2 separate regions of the Homo sapiens genome follow, and region 2 is linked to region 1. The links are contacts of gene promoters, found by promoter capture Hi-C in human tissues and cell types (Jung and others, 2019). All regions are on one chromosome and are shown on one strand. Each heading gives the region's core, a stretch centred on a gene start or on the middle of the fragment in contact. The rest is flanking DNA. Distances are from core to core; before and after follow the strand shown. Region 1 holds the start of NEUROG3 (neurogenin 3). Region 2 overlaps COL13A1 (collagen type XIII alpha 1 chain).

What was found. Contacts are between HindIII fragments. The study calls those that stand out against the background at their distance.
Region 2: a contact is called between a fragment that was not itself captured here and the fragment with the promoter of NEUROG3 in region 1, in 1 of the 25 tissues and cell types used here (aorta).

The regions. Positions count from the first base shown.
Region 1 is chr10:69,571,304-69,575,110 of GRCh38, reverse strand. NEUROG3 (neurogenin 3) reads left to right here and starts at 1,689. Exons shown (of 2, transcript NM_020999.4): 1 at 1,689-1,901; 2 at 2,067-3,413. The coding sequence starts at 2,068. The coding sequence ends at 2,712. It overlaps LOC101929021 (a long non-coding RNA gene), which reads right to left and starts at 2,154. Exons shown (of 4, transcript XR_946037.2): 1 at 2,044-2,154; 2 at 1-229. RefSeq lists a silencer at 1,419-1,638 and an enhancer at 2,896-3,523. The HindIII fragment of the contact is 13,443 bases long and covers 1-3,807 here.
Region 2 is chr10:69,877,668-69,881,457 of GRCh38, reverse strand. COL13A1 (collagen type XIII alpha 1 chain) reads right to left here. Exons shown (of 41, transcript NM_001368882.1): 6 at 3,393-3,419; 7 at 905-955. Among named protein-coding and RNA genes, the nearest start is that of COL13A1, 78 kb to the right of the region's middle. The HindIII fragment of the contact is 4,719 bases long and covers 1-3,790 here.

The DNA of each region.
Region 1 (3,807 bases), core at 440-2,939:
TCCTGTCCCCTCCTGCAGTTTCCGGGAGACTCAGGATATCTGGACCTGCTAGAAAGAGAAGCCTTCCTCGCCTAAGGAGACTTAAACCGGGATACTTAAACCTCCCGCCTCGGCGTCTTCCTCCAGGCACGACCGGGTCAAGAGAGAGAAGCGGAAGCTGCAACCCCTCACTCTGAGTGACCGGAAGCAGAAGACCACGGGATGTCCCAGGCGGGGACAAGAGGAGGGGCTGGGGAAGAAAGGAGGGATGATGAGTTCAGAGTCCCTTTGGAAAGGTTTCCAGAGAGCGCTACCAGGGACAACCCAAGGGGCTGGGGAAGTCCCTGCCTTGTGCTCTCTGTGCGATGCCCGAGTGATGCAGAGGCAGGGGGCTGGAGCAGGTGACTGCTGGCAGCTGCTGTCTGTCTGTGATTGGACCGGAGGACTAAGGGGAGAAAAAGTTTATCAGCTTCTCCCAGTGCCTGCACGCTGTGGTAGTTCAAAAGACACGAGGGGGAGGGGCACAGCAGCTCTGCTTCCCAGCGCCTTGGGAGACTGAAGTGAAAGGAACGCTTGAGCCCAGGAGTTCGAGACCATCCTGGGCAACAAAGCAAGACCGCCCCTCACCCCATACAAAATAAAAATACAAATAAATTAGCCGGGCACAGTGGCGCATGCCTGTAGTCTCAGCTACTGGGAAGGCTGAAGTGGGAGGATAGCTTGAGCCCAGGAGATCAAGGCTGCAGTGAGCTGTGATTGCACCACTGCAGTCCAGCCTGGGCGACAGAAGGAGACCGTTTTTTGGTTTTGTTTGTTCGTTTAAAAAAAAAAAGAAGCAAGAGCTCACTGTGAACTCCTGGTTCCTTCCTCCCCTCCTCACACTTCCCAGAACTCTTCCTGTCACGGTTCCTGGCCAGAACGCTGGGATACTATCTACAAGCTGTAGTAGGCTTGTAGTAATGGAATGTCCGCTTGAGGGGTCCCCGCACAGCCAACCCCTGCCTCTGGAGTGGGATCTATGGGGGTGGGGTTCTAAGCGCCTCTGGGGAGTGTGAGGTAGCATCTCAGGGTGTGGCAGAGGCTCGGACACCCCCAAAAGGTCTGCGAATGGAAGGGACATAGGCAGGATCTCTCTCAGTGATGTCCCCTGTCTTCCAGGATGAAGAGAGGCAGTGAAACACCAGGAGAGCAGGGCGTCCTTTAGAATTCCTGGACCCTTCTCCAGGCTGCTAGTCAGGACAATGAGCTCGTGGTTGTCTTTGCCACTATCTTCCTGTGCGATTTCAGACAAGCCACCTCCCTCACTAAGCCTAAATTTCCCCATGTGTAACGTGCAGGCATTGTACCCTAGAGGCATCAAAGTCCCCTCCAGGACAGATGCTAAGGAAAGATAGGCTAGGAGCAAAGCCGTCTGAGGTGGCCTGACCAGAGCCACACGAGGCTCTTCTCACTGGGCGAGGCTCTTTGAGGAACCGAGAGTTGCTGGGACCCAGCCCGCCCTCGAGAGAGCAAACAGAGCGGCGCTCCCCTCCCCCGACCCCGGCCCTTTGTCCGGAATCCAGCTGTGCCCTGCGGGGGAGGAGCGGGCTCGCGTGGCGCGGCCCCAGGGCCCCGGCGCTGATTGGCCGGTGGCGCGGGCAGCAGCCGGGCAGGCACGCTCCTGGCCCGGGCGAAGCAGATAAAGCGTGCCAAGGGGCACACGACTTGCTGCTCAGGAAATCCCTGCGGTCTCACCGCCGCGCCTCGAGAGAGAGCGTGACAGAGGCCTCGGACCCCATTCTCTCTTCTTTTCTCCTTTGGGGCTGGGGCAACTCCCAGGCGGGGGCGCCTGCAGCTCAGCTGAACTTGGCGACCAGAAGCCCGCTGAGCTCCCCACGGCCCTCGCTGCTCATCGCTCTCTATTCTTTTGCGCCGGTAGAAAGGTAATATTTGGAGGCCTCCGAGGGACGGGCAGGGGAAAGAGGGATCCTCTGACCCAGCGGGGGCTGGGAGGATGGCTGTTTTTGTTTTTTCCCACCTAGCCTCGGAATCGCGGACTGCGCCCAGTGACGGACTCAAACTTACCCTTCCCTCTGACCCCGCCGTAGGATGACGCCTCAACCCTCGGGTGCGCCCACTGTCCAAGTGACCCGTGAGACGGAGCGGTCCTTCCCCAGAGCCTCGGAAGACGAAGTGACCTGCCCCACGTCCGCCCCGCCCAGCCCCACTCGCACACGGGGGAACTGCGCAGAGGCGGAAGAGGGAGGCTGCCGAGGGGCCCCGAGGAAGCTCCGGGCACGGCGCGGGGGACGCAGCCGGCCTAAGAGCGAGTTGGCACTGAGCAAGCAGCGACGGAGTCGGCGAAAGAAGGCCAACGACCGCGAGCGCAATCGAATGCACAACCTCAACTCGGCACTGGACGCCCTGCGCGGTGTCCTGCCCACCTTCCCAGACGACGCGAAGCTCACCAAGATCGAGACGCTGCGCTTCGCCCACAACTACATCTGGGCGCTGACTCAAACGCTGCGCATAGCGGACCACAGCTTGTACGCGCTGGAGCCGCCGGCGCCGCACTGCGGGGAGCTGGGCAGCCCAGGCGGTTCCCCCGGGGACTGGGGGTCCCTCTACTCCCCAGTCTCCCAGGCTGGCAGCCTGAGTCCCGCCGCGTCGCTGGAGGAGCGACCCGGGCTGCTGGGGGCCACCTTTTCCGCCTGCTTGAGCCCAGGCAGTCTGGCTTTCTCAGATTTTCTGTGAAAGGACCTGTCTGTCGCTGGGCTGTGGGTGCTAAGGGTAAGGGAGAGGGAGGGAGCCGGGAGCCGTAGAGGGTGGCCGACGGCGGCGGCCCTCAAAAGCACTTGTTCCTTCTGCTTCTCCCTGGCTGACCCCTGGCCGGCCCAGGCCTCCACGGGGGCGGCAGGCTGGGTTCATTCCCCGGCCCTCCGAGCCGCGCCAACGCACGCAACCCTTGCTGCTGCCCGCGCGAAGTGGGCATTGCAAAGTGCGCTCATTTTAGGCCTCCTCTCTGCCACCACCCCATAATCTCATTCAAAGAATACTAGAATGGTAGCACTACCCGGCCGGAGCCGCCCACCGTCTTGGGTCGCCCTACCCTCACTCAAGTCTGTCTGCCTCTCAGTCTCTTACCACCCCTCCTCCAATGTGATTCAATCCAATGTTTGGTCTCTCAGCGCTTACTCCCCTTGCCTTGCTCCAAAGACGCTGCCGATCTGCTCTACTCCCAATCAGGTCCGGGATTTCAGGGCGCCTCACTCTGCCTTAAAGCCACGAAGGCGACCCTCTGCCTTCTCCTCGTGCACTTTTCGGAGCCATTGCCCTCCCGGGGCGGAAGACCAGGCTGTGAACTGGGAAAGCGCTAGCCCGGCCAGGGAGCATCTCCCCAGCCTCCCTGCGAACTGCGCCTGAAACGTGAGCTGCGCTGCAGGTGCCTGGAGCACCGCGCATCTTTTTTTTTTAAATCTGTTTGTAAATTATATGATGCCTTTTGAAATCAATTTTGGTACAGTAAATTATATGGCCCCTCCCCTGTTTTACACATTTGTATTTATTAATGAGATTTCACAGCAGGGAAAAGCCTATATTTTGTATATTAGATTATTTAGGGATTGCTGGATGAGATTTTAAGCCAATAAAAAAAAATGGACCTTCAAGAAGCCTTGGCAAGATGACTCCATTGTGTGTTGGGGAGAGGAGGGCCACAGTCACTACAGCTGAGGAAGAGCACTTCTGTCCAAAGAGAGGGATGACACTCTTTCTGGAGGTCTGGGCTAGAGCCAGGGCAGATTGGGTTTGGAGAGCTGGAAGTCTTCTAAGTAATTATTGGTCCAGCTC
Region 2 (3,790 bases), core at 698-3,197, 310 kb before region 1:
GGGTCTCAGTCTCCCAGAGGCTAGCCCTCTGCTCCCACCCCTCACTGAGCACGGCGGGTCAGGAAAAGTGCAGAAGGTGGAGCCGGCGGCCTGCTGCTGTGGTGAGGCCGGGGCTCCTCGGTTCTAATCCTGCCCAGCCTCTACACGGGAGGGCGCTCCCCCTCTCTGAGCCTCAGTTTCCCCTTCTGAGAGGGCTGTGTTAGACCATCCCTGGGATCCTTTCCACCCTGACGTGTGGTGATTTTATTAAAGCCCCGTGGTTCAGGGCTCTGGGAAAATAACAAGCCCTTCCTCCCACAGCCTCGATATCTTGCTGGCTTCATCACCCACACCCCTGTTTTGGTCCTTAAGGAAGCACATGTGAGGGGAGCCTCGCTGGTTTTCTCAAGCTCCCAGCCACGGGGTGGAGGGTGCTAGTGAACACACAGGACCCAGCACTGCACACAGAGGCATCTGTGAGGGTGAGTGTGGGCTGGCCCTCCGGCAAGACCAGTAGTGCGTGCCTGGGTCAGTGAACCCGGACTCGTATCTGCTCCATGGGCTTCCAGAAACAAAGGCTGGTTCCCGGGAAAGCCGGATCACCCCATCCGGAGGAGAGCGAGCCCTTTCTCCCTTCTGTCTGTAAACAGCAGGGCCGCCTTGCAGCTGCTGTAGTTTCGTGGCTAGAGGGCAGGTCCCTCAGAACCCTCCCAAGGGACTGTAATTTAGGTATATTTAGCCAGGCCACTTTCCTTAACATCAACATCGGCACCCGAGGCCTGGCTGGGCTGACCACATCACATGCGGTGGCCTCCCCACCCAGGGGCACAGCCGCCCTCGCTGTCCCCTCATCCCCAGCCTAAAAGCCCTTTTCATCAACTCACCCATCCCCCCAACACCCCGAGGAAGAGCAAAAACAACTTACAGGGGGGCCGCGGGGACCAATGATGGACAGCCCAGCGTCTCCGGGGGACCCCTGCGGGGAGAGAGGAAGGGGGAGAGGGAGCGAGGGGCAGGGAGGTATGGAGAAGAGGAGCGGGAAAGAGAGGAACCAAAGGGAAGGAGCTGGCAGGGGGCCAGGAGCAGGAGGCCGGCCCCATGGGACAGGAGAGGGATGCCAGGGGACGTGGAGGGCCACGAGGGGATCAGCAGAGTCAACACAGAGGGCACAGGGGCAAGGAGGGAGCATTCAGAATGGGTTGGGAAGGGCAGGTAGTAGGGGGAAGCAGCAGGAGGGAAAGGAGAAGAGGTGTCAGTGAGAACACAGGACATGGGGTTCCGGGGAGACAGGGTGGTGGGACCCCAGGCCGGGGAAGCGAGAAGAACAGGATCCATTGGAGTGGCGGGAAACAGGGAGACACAGGGAGAGAGGGGAGACTTAGCAAGGCTGCCCAGGCCTGAGTCTCTCCCCGGCCCAGCCCAGGATGCTTTCCAGCTCCCCCTCCGCAAATACCCATCTGGCCGCACACCCTGCAACTGCTGAACAGTGACCTGCCCGAGAATGGGACTGTGAAAACAGAGGAGGGGGACACGAGCAACATGCGTGCTGTGTGAACTCAGCATCCCTGACCCTGAAAGGTTGAGCTGCCTCAAATTCCCTAGTCCCGGTTTCAGAATGACATGGAGGGGTGAAGGCCAGGGCAGAATGTCAGCTCTGAGAGGAAGGCAGATGCTGCTGAATGATGAGCTCAAAGTGCTGTCAAGGGTGGCTGAGCTAGCTAGACAAGTGCCATGTGTGCGTGTGTGTGTCCCTAAGTTCAAGGTCCTACTCTGCCAGGAAAAGTCACAAAACCTCTCTGAGCCCACATACCTCCTCTGGGAACAGGAATGCTGAGAGCGGCTCTGTTGCCCTTACGGGAAACGCATTTTGGAAAATGTCATACCTTACAGGCAGGCGAGGGATGATTTCAAGTTAGTAACTGTTTATGTCATGGCAATGATACAATAATTTTTATACAAGGCGGTGTAGTGTCATGGTTAAGAGCCAGAATGCTTGGGTCTGAAGATCAGCTCTGCTACCCACCAGCTGTGTGACCTTGGGCAAGCGACTTAATGTCCCCGTGCCTGTCTTCTCATCTGTAAGGATACAGATAGCGCCTGTCTCATAGGGTGGATGTGAAGATGTCATGTGATAATGTAAAGTACTTAAAACAATGCCTGGTCCATGGAAGGGGTCATGTGTCTTTCTCCTAGGCAGTTTAGCCTCATGCCAATGTGGAGCTGACAGTCTAGTTCCAATATGAGGACAGAATAGCATGGTAGCTAGGAGCCCCAGCCTTGGAGTCAGACACACTGGGGCACCTCTCCATCTCTGTCACATTCTAGCTGTGTGACCCGGGGCATGTGACTTGGCCTCTCTGTGCCTCGTGTAAATGAGAATATTAAAGCTTCCCTGAAAAGGTTATGTCAGTGCTAGTTGGGAAAACAGACAAAATACTTAAACCCGCACCTGACACAATTTGTGTTTAATACATGGCAACTGTATTATAATTGTTGAGATTGTTATTTTGGAGATGGGAAACTATTGCAGAAATACTGCATTACAGACAGGGAAGTACAGAGCCGGGCACCGGGAGGTCTGGCTTGGAGCCCCTGCTCATCACTATTGCTGTGCCATCTTGGGCCAGCCCTGCTCCTTCCTTGGGCATCAGATGAGTTTCCTCACCTGCAGAGTGAACTCTTTAGAAGTGTTGTGCTTGGCCAGGCATGGTGGCTCACACCTGTAATCCCAGCACTTTGGGAGGACAAGTGGGCGGATCACCTGAGGTCAGGAATTCGAGACCAGCCTGGCCAACATGGTAAAACCCTGTCTCTACTAAAACTGCAAAAATTAGCTGGGTGTGGTGGCACAGGCCTATAATCCCAGCTACTTGGGAGGCTGAGGTAGGAGAATTGCTTGAACCCAGGAGACGGAGGTTGCAGTGAGCCGAGATCTCGCCACTGCGCTCCAGCCTGGGTGACAGAGCGAGACTCAATCTCAAAAAAAAAAAAGAAGTGTTGCTCTCAGAAATCTCTCAAGAACCCCCCAGGGCTGATGTTCCAGGATGGCTTCTGGATTTCTGACTTCCCAGGGGGGCTCTATTCCATAGCCTCGGGGGTCCCCCTGGGCAGTTCCAGCTACACAAAATAGCGATTGGCCAGAGCGATGAGGCCTCATGCTGTCAGGGCAGGGCAAGGCAGGGAAGACCTCCTCAGCTGGGAAAGCTGGGACCGCCGCCCAGGAATCCCAAGACTGCTGCCCGATGTTATGGAAGCTGTTAGGAAACGGGGCCGTGAGAGGCAGTGAGGGCAGCAGGCCCAGCCAGCACCCTCTGCTGCGGCTTTCATGGGGGGGAGGGCTGAGAGCCTCCCATCAAGAGTCCACCTGGAGGAGGAGGCTGGGTGCAGGGCAGAAGGGGAAAGTGTGGACTCACCTTCTCGCCTGGTTGGCCCTTTACTCCCTGGGGCAGCCACATGCAACACAGGGTGCAGGAAGGGAAAGGAGGGGAGAGAAAAAAGAGGGGATGAGAAAGAGGCACCCACACGAGAATCCATGTTCATAGCACAACAACCAAACAGAAGAAATCACTGTGAAATAAGAAACAAAGCAAAACACAGATGTCGACACATGGCAGGTCCACGTCCAACAAGCACAGCATGTGGCATGTGGAAGGCGCTGCTGCAATGTGCAGCTGCTCCAGATAACTGAGAAACAGTGGCTGGGGCCGTAAGAGGCCCTCTTGAGGCACGTACGTGTGTGTGTGTGTGTGTGTGTGTGTGTGTGTGTGTGTGTGTGTGTGAGAGAGAGAGAGAGAGAGAGAGAGACAGAGAG